3 separate regions of the Homo sapiens genome follow, and all the other regions are linked to region 3. The links are contacts of gene promoters, found by promoter capture Hi-C in human tissues and cell types (Jung and others, 2019). All regions are on one chromosome and are shown on one strand. The core of a region is centred on a gene start or on the middle of the fragment in contact, and the rest is flanking DNA. Distances in the headings are between cores, read along the strand shown. Region 1 holds the start of SERAC1 (serine active site containing 1). Region 2 overlaps GTF2H5 (general transcription factor IIH subunit 5). Region 3 holds the start of EZR (ezrin).

The links. The method cuts DNA at HindIII sites, captures the fragments that hold promoters and counts their contacts. A contact is called where the count stands out against the background at its distance.
Region 1: a contact is called between the fragment with the promoter of SERAC1 here and the fragment with the promoter of EZR in region 3, in 2 of the 25 tissues and cell types used here (H1 embryonic stem cells and IMR-90 fibroblasts).
Region 2: a fragment that was not itself captured here is called in contact with the fragment with the promoter of EZR in region 3 in 1 of the 25 tissues and cell types used here (lymphoblastoid cells).

The regions. Positions count from the first base shown.
Region 1 is chr6:158,165,470-158,169,743 of GRCh38, forward strand. SERAC1 (serine active site containing 1) reads right to left here and starts at 2,793. Exons shown (of 17, transcript NM_032861.4): 1 at 2,671-2,793. GTF2H5 (general transcription factor IIH subunit 5) reads left to right here and starts at 2,881. Exons shown (of 3, transcript NM_207118.3): 1 at 2,881-2,926. RefSeq lists silencers at 2,591-2,660, 2,701-2,880. The HindIII fragment of the contact is 17,979 bases long and covers 1-4,274 here.
Region 2 is chr6:158,194,660-158,199,161 of GRCh38, forward strand. GTF2H5 (general transcription factor IIH subunit 5) reads left to right here. Exons shown (of 3, transcript NM_207118.3): 3 at 1-4,502. Among named protein-coding and RNA genes, the nearest start is that of GTF2H5, 29 kb to the left of the region's middle. RefSeq lists an enhancer at 1-312. The HindIII fragment of the contact is 3,149 bases long and covers 1-3,010 here.
Region 3 is chr6:158,816,287-158,821,101 of GRCh38, forward strand. EZR (ezrin) reads right to left here and starts at 3,082. Exons shown (of 14, transcript NM_001111077.2): 1 at 3,031-3,082; 2 at 1,796-1,880. The coding sequence starts at 1,807. EZR-AS1 (EZR antisense RNA 1) reads left to right here and starts at 1,693. Exons shown (of 3, transcript NR_102425.1): 1 at 1,693-1,819; 2 at 4,186-4,307. RefSeq lists enhancers at 101-150, 1,014-1,183, 1,666-1,715 and silencers at 1,926-2,125, 2,266-3,255, 3,316-3,365. The HindIII fragment of the contact is 16,325 bases long and covers 1-4,815 here.

The DNA of each region.
Region 1 (4,274 bases), core at 1,543-4,042, 650 kb before region 3:
ATATGCCAGTGATCTCAGAGTACCTCTAGCTACGATCTTTCCTGACCTATCTATCCAACAGCTATTGGAACATTTCCACTTGGATGTCCAACAGGCCTTTCATACTCAACTGTCCAAAAGAGAATTCTTTACTTTTTCTCCCCAAACTCTTCCTCCACAAATCTTCTCCATCACTATCCATCAAATGGTCAATGCTTTTTGATTGTAAATGGTAAATGATCTACCTCTTAACTGAAGCAAAAAAACAGATGTTGCCCTTGATTCCTTGTTTTCCCCTTACTCTACATCTAAACCACGCAGAGTTGCTCTTCTCTACCATCAAAACATACCCCCAAATCCATCCATTTTTCTCTGTATTCACTGCTACACTCTTGTCTAGTTCAAGCCAACATCATCTCTCATTTGGAGTAATAAAATGACACCTCAAAGGTGCTTTTTGTAACTTAAGAAATCCTTCTCAGAGACATTTAAAAAAAAAGTTCTGGAGATAGATAGTAGTGCTGGTTGCACAATGTGAATGTCACTGAACTCAACAACTCAACATGGTTAACATGATAAATCTTATGTGTAACAAGATTTAACAAAGCAAACAAAAAAGAAATCTTTCCTAGAGACAATGGTCTCTTATATTCCTTTCCAAATACCTTGCAGCTGTGCCATTCACATTTAGGTCTTTATCTGGAAACTGTTGTCAATAGTTTGAAAGTAAGAATCTAATCCTGTCTGTATACCATAACAATGCCAGATATCTCAGCAACCATATATTTCATCATCCTTTATTGAATAGTCTATGCTTTCCCCCTGCTTTGCAATACCACTTAGTGGTATACTAAACTCCCGTATGTAAATAGGTATGTTTCTAGTGTCTCTATTCTGTTCCATGAATCTAATTCTCTATCCCTGAATCAATATCATACCATCTTAATAATTACAACTTTATATTAAGCTTTGGTATCTGATAGGGAGAGACCTTATTTTTCTTCTTCTTCAAAATTGACTTCACTATTCTTGGTCCCTTGCCTTTCCATATAAATTTTAAGTTCAGCATGGCAAATTCCATAAAACAATATGGTGATTTTAATTGGCATTACACTGAATTCGTAGAACTGAGGAAAACTGACATCTTTTTGTTGAGTCTTTCCATCTATTAATACGGTATATCTCACCATTTACTTGGGTCATCTTTTGTGTTCCAACAGAGCCTTACAATTTTCTGTCTAAAGGACTACACAGCTTTAGGTTCATCTATTTCTAGGTACCTTTAGTTTTGAATGCCATTATGAATAGTGTCTTTTTATTATTAAAACTCCTAGTTAATTGTTACTGGTATACAGAAGTTTTTAAATGCAGAAATTAAGGCCATTTCTGACATCCCCCTGGCCAAAATAACCCCTCTAGTCACTCTTTATCACATCACCAAATGGTACTTATTCCTTAACTGATTTCAGAGTCTCTCTGCCCCCACCAAAATTAGTTACCTGTTCACCATTGTATCCCAAGCGTCTAGAATAATAGCTGACACACATCAAGTGCACAAAAATGGAACTGATGAGATCAAGGAAGAGAATGTATGCAAGATGAAAAAAAGCAAATAAAAGATACTTGGGAAGAAGAAGACTTGGAGGCAATTTTTTTATTTTAAAGAGAGTGCAACAATATGGAAATCACCAGTTGGAAAAGATTTGAGGGATAGAAAGAGGGAACTAAATGGAAGAGCTGGGTTCCTTAGCGATCACATGAACACACACGATGTTAAAAAAAAAAAAAAAAAAAAAAAGGCAGCATGAGGTCGGGCGCGGTGGCTCACACCTGTAATCGCAGCACTCTGGGAGGCCGAGGCGGGGGATCACCTGATGTCAGGAATTCCAGACCAGCCTGGCCAACATGGACAAACCCCGTGTCTACTAAAAATACGAAAATCAGCCGGGCGTGGTAGCGCACGCCTGTAATCCCAGTTACTAGGGAGAATGAGGCAGGATAATTGCTTGAACCCAGGAGACGGAGGTTGCAGTGAGCCCAGATCGCGCCACTGCACTCCAGCCTGGCAGACAGACCGAGACTCCATCTCAAAAAAAAAAAAAAAAAAGGCAGCATGAGCTTAATGCGGGAAGTACAATTTAACCTAAGGAACAGAAAACAAGAATCTCATATCTCAACTAGTAAAAATAATGACAGTGTTCCTTTAGACTTACAGAACAGACTTGGGGAAAGGGAGTAACTTTAGAACCTTCTGGGGTCTTTCACTTTAAAATGACCGTTGCCGAGTTTAGAGCTCTCTCAGCATTCAATCTATTCCATCTCTGGGGTTAGAGAGGGAGCAGGAAGCGGTGGTCTGCAAGGCTCAGAAGTGACTGGTGAGGCCCTTTCCTCCTCCTCCTCATCTCTCCGTGACTACCGAGCCCGGGAAGACGGACCGGCAGGTGCACTCCCCAAGGCCTCGACAGCAGCCAGAGAAAGGCAGCGACAGGGAAAGACGAGTCAGGCTCGCGACCACCAGAGAGAGAGGCCCTCACGCCCAGCCGAGCGTCAGCTGGTCGGTCCGGTCCGCGCGCCAGACGGCGGTGCTCGGCCGTGCCCGGTCCCTGCCCTCCCCATTCTCCGCTCCCCACCGCGCCCAGCTGCGCCGACGCCCCCGTCCGCCCCCACACCACCCCTGCCTTCACGTCCTACCTGCCGGCAGGCGGACTCAGCCCGTGCCCAACTGCTCGTCGGACCCCGTTGTCTGGGGAGCCCTACTCTTTCCGCGGCTCCCGGCCGGGACCCTCCACCCGGCGGCTGGCGGCTCGTGACCCCGCCCCCTCGGCCCGCTCTGGGCCCGCCTCCCGCCGGCTGGCTCCACCCACAATAGCGTCCCTAGCGCGATGGCGTATCGGCGCAGGCGCACTCTGCCGGCAACGCCGAGGCGCTTCTGCATCTGTGGGCCGAGGTGTGTGGCGAGCGTCCGAGCGGCTGGGGAAAGTGGGGTGTGGGAACACTGAGGGGTCCCAAAGAAAGGGGAGAGGAAGAGAAAAGCCCCAGAAGCCTGTCCACCGGGTGCTGGGGGCACAGGGCGGTGTCCCCCACTCTCTCCGGGCCCTTCCTGGCGGGGCCGCACGGCAGTCCCCCCCTCGTTTAATCGTGGGTTTCCTGTGGGGCTAGGGCTCGCCCTGCGCCCAGGTGTAAGTGGAAGTTAATTAAATGGGCGTACGCTGAGTGGTTTGTTTCCAGCCTAGGTCCGCACGGGACGTGATTTATTTAGTGAAGGGGCACAAGATCTGGAGATCTGGCTTGTACTTTTTTCCTTTGGCCAGGAACTACGGCTTAATCTCTTCCTTTGGTCTCCTCATATGTAAAATGAGGTGGCTGAGGCCGGGCGCGGTGGCTCACGCCTGCAATCCCAGCACATTGGGAGGCCGAGGCGGGCAAATCACTTGAGGCCAGGAGTTCGAGACCAGCCTGGCCAACATGGTGAAACCCCGTCTCCACTAAAAATACAATAAATTGGCCTGGCGCGGTGGCTCACACCTGTTGTCCCAGCACTTTGGGAGGCCGAGGTAGGTGGATCATTTGAGATCAGGAGTTCGAGACCAGCCTGGCCAACATGGTGAAACCCTGCCTCTACTAAAAATACAAAATTTGGCCTGGCGTGGTGGCGGGCGCCTGTAGTCCCCGCTGCTTGGGAGGCTGAGGCAGGAGAATCGCTTGAGCCCGGGAGGCAGAGGTTGCAGTGAGCCGACATCACGACACTGCGCTCCAGCCTGGGCGACAGAGTGAGACTCTGTCTCGAAGTGTATATATACATATATATATATTATATATGTATTTTATATATAATATATATTTATTTTATATATAATATATAATATGTATATTATGTATATTATATATAATACGTATATTATATATAATACATATATATAATATGTATATTATATATTATATATAATATTATATTGTATATTATATATTATATATAATATATTGTATATTATATATATTATATATTATATATATTATATTGTATATTATATATAATATATTGTATATTATATAATATATTGTATATTATATATAATATACAGTATATTATATATAATATACTGTATATTATATATAATATATTGTATATTATATATAATATATTGTATATTACATATATTGTATATTACATATAATATATTGTATATTACATATATTGTATATTACATATAATATATTGTATATTATATAATATATAATATATATTATATAATATATTGTATATTATATATTATATAATATATTGTATATTATAT
Region 2 (4,502 bases), core at 186-2,685, 620 kb before region 3:
CCTTGAGGAAAGGGGGTGGGTAAGGAGTCCTTGATGTCCTGTAAATGAAGGAACCAAATGGAGTTCCTCCGGCTTTCTCAGCTAAGGGAGAGCTTATTCACATGGAAACAAGGCTAGGTGATTAAGGGAGAAAGGGACAGTCTGAAAACAAGGTTAGTAAAAACAAGGTTAGGTATTAGAACTGCAAAGAGTATTAAGTGAAATAAGTGAAGGAAAATATGAGCTCTTATTTTTAAAAAGTTGTGTTGGGGCAAATGTTAAATATCTTTCTTTCTCTGGACATTATTAAGAAAGATAGAGTGATGTGAATGATAGGAAGCCCACCTGTAACCACTTAGCTGACATGTCCAACTATGGGTGAACAGGAAATAAGCGACATTCACCTAGGCTGTTTATTGGAATCTGACTAGCATTATTTGATTTGGCATACTTTACATGTCCAGAACAAGGCTGTTGGTGCTTGGCACCAAGAAATTTATGACTTTTTTTTTTTTTTTAAATAAAGTCCTAAAGGTAGCATTAAAATGACTTAACTGGAGGCAGGAGGATCACTGAAGCCCAGGAGTTTGAAGCTGCAGTAAGCTAAGAAGGTGCCACTGCACTGCAGCCTGGATGACAGAGTGAAACTTTGTCTCTTAATAGAACTATGGACTGAAGTTGTGATATTGAGTGTTATATTTCTCAATAAAGGTTTTTTCTTTTAATACTGTATTAGGTCAAATTCAAGGTCTTAATTCCTTGAATTCCAATTTCCTTGTGAAATTTCATGTGATTAATTTAAAATTCCAGGGATCCTATCTAACATCACAGTTGATGGATATAACAATGTATTTTGAGAAATCAGTTTTGGTGAACAGTAACAGCATTACTGATAATAGGCAACAAACACTACTGCATTTTATTTCTGATAGGCATTATAGGTGGTAATCCAAATGATTAATGATTTTATTGCTCTTTACATTTTCTAGAACAGGTGATTTGACATAATTGTACTTTTTTCTGAGAAGTTGGTAGTGTACTTACTACTCTATTTTGCAGTTATACAATAAATCTTACTTAGCTGACAACTAGGAGTAAAAGCTCTGACAAAAAGCCTCTGCTGTAACTAAAATACTGAGATCATTCTATCTTAACAAACTTAACAGATGGGGAAGGGGTATATTTTAAAGATGGAGAAATGATGCAGTTTGCAAATATAGTCAATAAATATTCTCAAGTGTACGTAGCTCAATTTCATTTGCAGCAAAGATAACACTGAAATGTCTATGGATGAGATTATTGGATAAACTTTTTTAAAAACACTGTTCTCAAGATAGGCAAGTGATTAAGAGCACTGACTGGGCCGGGCGCGGTGGCTCACGTCTATAATCCTAGCACTTTGGGAGGCCGAGGCGGGCAAATCACAAGGTCAGGAGATCAAAACAATCCTGGCTAACAAGGTGAAACCCCGTCTCTACTAAAAATACAAAAAAATTAGCTGGGCATGGTGGTGGACGCCTGTAGTCCCAGCTACTCGGGAGGCTGAGGCAGGAGAATGGTGTAATCCCGGGAGGTGGAGGTTGCAGTGAGCCGAGATCGTGCCACTGCACTCCAGCCGGGGTGACAGAGCGAGACTCCCACCCATCTCAAAAAAAATAAAAATGAAAAGCACTGATTGAATCTAGATTCCTTGAGTCCAAGTGTCAGATCTCTGCTTACTAGCTCTGGGATCTCAGATGTTTCGTTGATTGGATTTCTTTGTGCTCATTTGTGTAAACAGGAATGCCCGTCTTTAAAGACTATTAAAATGAATGTGAGTTAACACACAAGAGGTCTTCAAAAAGTTGATGGAAAATGCATATTATGAAAAAAATTATGCATAGATTTCAAAAATCTTTGCAGCAAAATAAACTCATCATTATAACATGTCTGAACAGGATCTAGTTTGAGGCACTAAGAAGGATATCAGTTTAAATAGAGCCCCTGTCAGAACAATATGAATTCTGCTAAAACTGAAGCAAGAACAAACATCAAATTTATGGCAAAGCTTAGGTGGAAGAATGGTGCAATCATTGATGCTTTGCAAAAAGTTTATGGGAACAACGCCCCAAGGAAATCAGTTTACAAATGGATAATTCATTTTAAGAAAGGACAAGACAATGTTGAAGATGAAACCTACAGCAGCAGACCATGCCACTTCGTGAGGAAAAAATTATCTCATTCATGCCCTACTTGAAGAGGACCAATGATTAACAGCAGAAACGATAGCCAACACAATATGCTCCTCAGTTGGTTCAGCTTTTATAAATCTGACTGAAAAATTAAAGTTGAGCACACTTTCCACTCAATGGATACCAAAACCATCCAGCCCAGGTCAGCTGCAGACAAAAGCAGAGCTTTCGATGGAAATGTCAAACAAGTGAGATCAAGATCCTGAAGCATTTCTTCAAAGAATTGTAGCAAAAACAGACTTTTAAAACCTTGAATTCAGAGACAGGTATAAAGACTGCTTGGTGATTTTGAAAGGACTGAGATCATTTTGGGAGAGATCATCTTCAGAAAATGACCAGATACAACAAGAATTTAACATGGCAGCCAAACCAACCCACTAACACACATTTAAATAAGATACCCAAATGCAGAAAGAAAAGCACAGTCGTCATGCAAAATAGTCACTACTCATTCAAAAACTCTATAGTTGTCTGAGTCGTTATGCTCAAAATATCCAATAATATTTCTTTTGCTGAGCTGTAAAATAATTATTTTGCAAACATAAAAGAAAAAAAAAAGAATTGTAACAGAAACATGGCTTTACCAGTATGACCCTCAAGACAAAATACAAAACAATGGCTACCAAGAGGTGGAAGTGGCCCAGTCACAGCAAGAGCAGATTGATCAAGAGCAAAGGTCATGGTAACAGTTTTTTGGATCCTCAAGTCATTTTGCTTGTTGACTTTTTGGAGGGCCAAATAAAGATATCATCTGCTTATTATGAGAGTGTTTCGAGAGAAATCCAAAGCTTAGCAGAGAAACGCCTGGGAAAGCTTCACCAGAGGGTCTTCCACCGTGACAGTTCCCCTGCGCATTCCTCTCATAAAGCAAGGGCAGTTTAGCTAGAATTTCTATCAAAAATCATTAGGTATCCATCTCCCAGTCCTGATTTGGCTCCTTCTGACTTCTTTTTGTTTCCCAATCTTAAAAAAATCCCTGAAGGGCACCTGTTTTTCTTCAGCTAATAAAAAAGACATGGTTAATTTCCCAGGACCCTCAGTTCTTTAGGGATAGACTGAATGGCTGGTATCATTGCTTGAACTTAATGGAGCTTATGTTGAGAAATAAAAGAAATTATATTTTATTTTTATCTTTTAATTCTATTTTTCCATGAACTTTTTGAAGTCCCCTCAGATATAAAGCAGAACGTTATGAAACTGAGTTACCTTGAATCTAGAAGAGTACAATGATAAAGGGGAAGATAGAAACACACACATATGCGTTGTTTTCCCCACTTTCACAATGCCGTGCAGAAACTAACAGATGAAGGAGGAGAATCCCTAAAAACAGAGCATTGGGTAGCTAGTCCACCAGCGGTCTGATGCTTTCATTGATCTCAAAACTGTCTCTGAGTAACTCTACCAGGAAAGTTGTCTGGAGGGTTAACATTTCTGAAACCATTTTTATCTTTGCCTTCATTCTTGAATGATAATTAGTCTCGAATGTTTGGATCACAATCCATTGAAAGACTAGGCTATTTTTTCACTGTCCTCAGACATTTACTGAGTCCAGTTTGGACTTTATTTTATTTTATTTTTTTTGAAACAAGATCTCGCTCTGTTGCTCAGGCTGAAGTGCAATAGCGCAAACTCGGCTCACTGCAACCTCCCAGGTTCAAGCAATTCTCGTGCCTCAGCCATCCCTATAGGCATGCGCCACCACACTTTGCTAATCTTGTATTTTTGGTAGAGACGGGGTTTGCACCATGTTGGCCAGGCTGGTCTCGAACTCCCAACCTCAAGTAATCTGGCCTCCCAAAGTGGTGGGATTACAGGCGTGAGCCAGCGCGCCCGGCCTGGACTTAACTTCTGAAGAACTCTTTCTGTTTAGATTGCAGGAGCGTTCTCTCGGCTCATCTCTTGTTTTCTCACCCAGCTGTTCTTCTTCTAGTTGGCCATCATTCTTCATCCCTCCCTCCCTTTCCTGCAGTTAATTATTTCTTTGAAATTTTAAAACTTCTTAATGTTGCCTGGAATACATGAGTCTTCCTGATCTCTTCAAACGGGGTTTGTTTTGTTTTGCTTTGGGGAGAATTCTTTTGACGTTTTTGAATAAGCTGTTAACAACTTTAATACCTGTCTTGTTTGTTTTCTTCAGAAATTTGTTAATTCTCCATGATTAGCACCTTTATGTGGTTATCTCATTATTTTCATTCCTTTTTAATTCTCTGTTTTAGGAATGCTTGTCAAATTCGTCACTAAAATTGATTTACTTTCTTGAAAACCTGTTTCTGCTGCTCCCAACATGATTTA
Region 3 (4,815 bases), core at 1,832-4,331:
AAATGTAAACCTAAAAGTAAGAGGATAAACTGTATATTTTACCAAAATACAAAAAAGAAACCATAAAAATAAATTACCATTCATTATGAGAAATGAGAAAGAAAAGTAGTGACGGAGAACAGGTTAACTTTTTCCTGAGTGCTATCTTAGCTGAGCTCTGCACCTCTTCTTTTAGTGAAATAAAGAAAACCACACCCAGAAGGGTAATCTTCTTGACCACTCCTCCGCATACCGTTGCACTCAGCTCTGCCTGAGTAAGGGGTTGTACTTAGGTCAGTTTCATACCACATGCACTGTCAAGCCTCGATGTCACGTGTCACTTTTAAGTTTGAATTAAAAAGAAAAATTTTGTATAGAAAATACTCTGCATCACAAATGAATCATCTTGATGTAACTTAGGCAAAAATTATATTGGCTTCTGAATCTACTGGCATATTAATTCTTTATCCTAACAGCAAAATTAATACCTCTAACAAAGATCTTAGAGAACATAAAATGTAACAGAAGAAGCACACAAGGCCGGGTGTGGTGGCTCACGCCTGTAATCCTAGCATTTTGGGAGGTCGAGGTAGGCAGATCACCTGAGGTCAGGAGTTTTAGACCAGCCTGGCCAACATGGTGAAACCCCCTCTCTATAAAAATACAAAAACCAGCTGGGCATGGTGGCACATGCCTGTAATCCCAACTACTCGGGAGGCTGAGGCAGGAGATTCGCTTGAACCTGAGAGGCAGAGGTTGCAGTGAGCCGAGATCATGCCACTGCACTCCAGCCTGGGCCACAGAGAGAGACTCCGCTCCCCCATCCCCCACAAAAGGCACACAAGCATTGATTACAGAACCAACTTGTTTGAAAAACCAAAAAAAAATTCCAGATGTATCTGTAATCCCAATTTGTAATGAATCCTGATATTTTGTCCATTGTGATTCAAAACTCAAAAAATGTTAAACCTTCCCCCTAATGTCTAGTCACCAGTTCCCCAGTGTTAAAAGCAGGTAGAATACATACAACTTTCTAAGAAGCGTCAGTCCCAGAGAACCTGCCTTGTGCCTACAACCCCCAGGTCTCGCCAGCAATCTCAACACAATCAGATTCAAGGAGACAGAGGCGCAGGCACAGCCCTTTCATCAGCTGACCAGGAGTGCTCGGCCCGGCCTGCCAGGAACCTCTTATCAAACTCCACCGGCTGCCTGCATCTACAATTCAAGTCCATGGCTAACCTTCTGTTAGAGACAGAAATTCTGCTGCAGCCAGCAAGTTTGCTGGTGTACAGGGCACCGCTTCATGGGCCTAGTAGGAAGCGAAGCTGAAAGGCAACTTCCGAAAGCCAGTCTCCTCTCCCAAACGCCCTTTAATATCTCCCCAGTTGGATCTGGGGCGCCTGTGGTTTCGGACCCTTAGGAGCTCTGAGAACTGGTGTGTGTGGTCGGAAGCCATCTGAGTCTCCCTGTGATTTGGACTTTTTAAGAAACTTCTAAGTTGTATTACTATACCCTTTAAAAACAGACGGAAGCAGTGTAAAAAGGCCTCTAGTTTTTAGAAAAGACCGTAACTACTGGGGAGGGGGCTCACAAAGAAAAAGACTGCAGAGAAAAGCATCAAAATGGTGTTTTCCTAACGCTCCACAAAAGGGTCAACAAGTAACAAAGAGCGGCGAAAACCTCCTCCTATTCCTATCGTCTTCTGCGTGTGAGAAGAACCCTGTTCCCCAGGAACTGCCCCAACACCTCGAGCAGGTGCCTCCCCTCTCCAATGAAGCCTCTCCCGTCCGCCCGGCCCAGAAACTGGGCAACTTACTGGTTTCGGCATTTTCGGTTTCTGGTGAGTATCCTCGATCCCCGAAAACACGACTATCCAGCAGCAGCGAAGACGCTGTCCCAACCTGGAGTCAGAGCAGAACCCTTAGAGCGCCCGCCCGCCCTGCCTCGTCCTCCTGCCGCGCCCGACACTCGGCGCCCGCAGCGCGCTGCCGCTTAAGAACCGGCCAGCCCGGGCCCGGGTGAGTCAGCGCCCCGCCCAGCACTGCGGGCATGGGGAGGGGGCACGGGCGGGGCGGGGCCGGGCCGGGCCCCCGGCGAGGAGGCGCCCGAGAGCGGGGGCGCGCGCCCAAGGGGCAGCCGGCGGGCACTGGAGGTGCCCCCCAGTTGGGGGTGGGTCCGAGGAGAGGGGGTGCGCACCCAGGGGACCCCCAGCATGAAGGGGCTGGTGGGGGGCGCAGGCCCGGGAGAGAGAGGGCAGGGGGAACACTCAGTGGGGAGGATCGGGGGGAGGGGGCGCGGGCCCCGGGGAACACTCGGCCAGGAGGGTCAGGGGAGAGAGCGCCGGCCGGGCGGGGAGGGGTCTGGGGGACACTCGAGGTGCACCCAGCGGAGAGAGGCGGAGAAGAGGGGGCGCGGGCCCAGGGATACCCGGCGGGGAAAGGCCCGGGGAGAGGGAGCGCGCGCCTGGGAGAGAGAGGGCGAGGGGCAGGAGGAACACCTAGGAGGAAGGAGTCCCGGGACAGCCAGCGCGAGCCCGCGGGGCACCCGACAGGGAGGGGTCAGGGGAGAGGGGGCACAGGGCGGGCGGGGGGGCACTCGCTGGGGAGGGATCCGTGGAGAGGGGGCGCGGGCTCGGGGTCCGCCGAGGAACTTCCCGGGGCTGCCAGGAAGCCCGTGAGAAGCCGAGCACTCGGCAAGTTTCACTTTGTGTAGCAACCGTTGCCCCGCGGCTGCAGTCACAACCGTCAAGCCTTTGAGAAACTCTTTCAAAAACTGCAACCGCTCGGGAGCCGCCGAGGGACGGCGCCCAGGCACCCAGGCTCCGCGTTTCCTTCGGGAGAGACCTGAGGGGACCCGGCGCCGAGGGGAAGGTCGCGGGGCCGCGGGCCGGCTCAGCTCCACCTGCCCCGGGGGTGCCGGGCGAGAACCCCGCGCCGCGCCCCCTAGGCTGCCCGCCGCACCTGCCGCCGAACCCCGCCGCCCGCCCGGGCCCTCCACCAGGAACCCCCCGCCCAGAACCCCCGTCCCGACCCCGGCCGCCGCACGCCTCACCCGGCGCCTGCAGTGCTCCGTGTGCTCCCCGCCGCCCTTGCGTCCGCCGAGTGCGCTCGCTGCCCGCGCTCCCAAAAGCCCCGGCGGGGCGGGTCCCGGGACCACGCCCCTTCCCGCCCAGCTCCCGACCTGTGAGGTGCGCCCCCCGCAAGATGGCGGCAGCCGGGCCTCGGGCTGGGTGGGGGCGGAACTTGGCGGAAGTGCGCGCTACTCCCCTCGCAGATGCAAGTGGGGAGGCTGTTTGTCCCACAGCGGGCAGGGGGAAGTCAGGAAAACGTAAATAAATCTGGAGGGGCGGACGGCTTGGGGGAATCGCTGGACCGCTTGGGGCCGGGACCGGGGGCCAGTTCCGAGGCCTCGGCCCTGGGGCGGCTGCACCTGGCCCCGAGTCTCGGTGCACGTGGCCGGCCCAGCCGCCGCCTTTCCGAAGCTCTGGTTAAGTGGCACGTTTGTGGCCTCTTTTGACGTGACTGGCAAAAAGCTCCATGGGATTTCTCTGAAATTCTAGGAATTAAGTTTTTTTGTTTGTTTTTTTGCTAATGGTTCTCAACAAATTTTTAAGACACACAAAACACATACTTTGGGGGCCAGTAGAATTTGCTGCGGGAGAGCTCACTCTAGAAGGGGTTCTCAACGTCTGGCTTCCAGACGAGCAGCAACAGCATTCACTGGGAACTTGCATAAGTGGAAATTAGGTGTTGCTCAGCCTTAGGATTCAGAAACTCTAGGGCTGAGCCCAGCAATCAGTGTGTTACAAGCCCTTCGGGTGATTGTGATGTTGGCTAAAGGTTGAGACCAGAGCTTCTCCTGAATTCCTCTCCTGGGTTTACTCCTCCCTTTCTGCTTTTAGTTTTCTTGTTTGTAAAGCGGCATAATTATGGCACCTGTATCAGAGGGTTCTAATGAGGATAATGAGTTAGTACATGTACGATGCCTGGAACAGTACCTGACACTTAGTAAGCACTTAAATCTATCCTGGTAGAAAGAGAAACCAATGACTTTGGGCGAAGTTCCAAACTCTGTTTCCCAATTTGTTGAGTGAACATACTAGTAGCCCCACCTACATAGACTTGTAAGGATTAAATGAGATCGTGCATGTGGAATGCTTAACTCGTGCTAGCCTCATAGTAATTGATGCTTAACCTGTCTTCCTAGGGACACACTGCTGTTTGGGCAACCCTTTGTCAGGGCCTGTTATCTCCCACTTGCAGATCCAGGGCATTTCAGAGGTCAGAGAGAGGAGGGAGGCCTCTTCTGAGATTTTGACCTCTATTCAGGTAAGTGTATTCCCTCTGAAAGACTGAACTTTTCTTTCCCTTTTTTTTTTAGACGGAGTTTTGCTCTTCTTGCCCAGGCTGGAGTGCATTGGCGCAATCTCAGCTCATTGCAACCTCCATCTCCCAGGTTCAAGCAATTCTCCTGCCTCAGCCTCTTGAGTAGCTGGGATTACAGACACCCGCCACCAAGCCCAGCTAAATTTTTGTATTTTTAGTAGAGACGGGGTTTCACCATGTTGGCCAGGCTGGTTTTGAACTCCTGACCTCAGGTGATCTGCTCACCTCGGCCTCCCAAAGTGCTAGGATTACAGGCGTGAGCCATCACTCCTGGCCTGAATTTCTTTTTTATTAAAATGAAGTTATAGGCCGGGCGCTGTGGCTCATGCCTGTAATCCCAGCACTTTGGGAGGCCGAGGCAGGTGGAACACCTGAGGTCAGGAGTTCAAGACCAGCCTGACCAACATGGAGAAACCCCGTCTCTACTAAAAATACAGAATTAGCTGGGTGT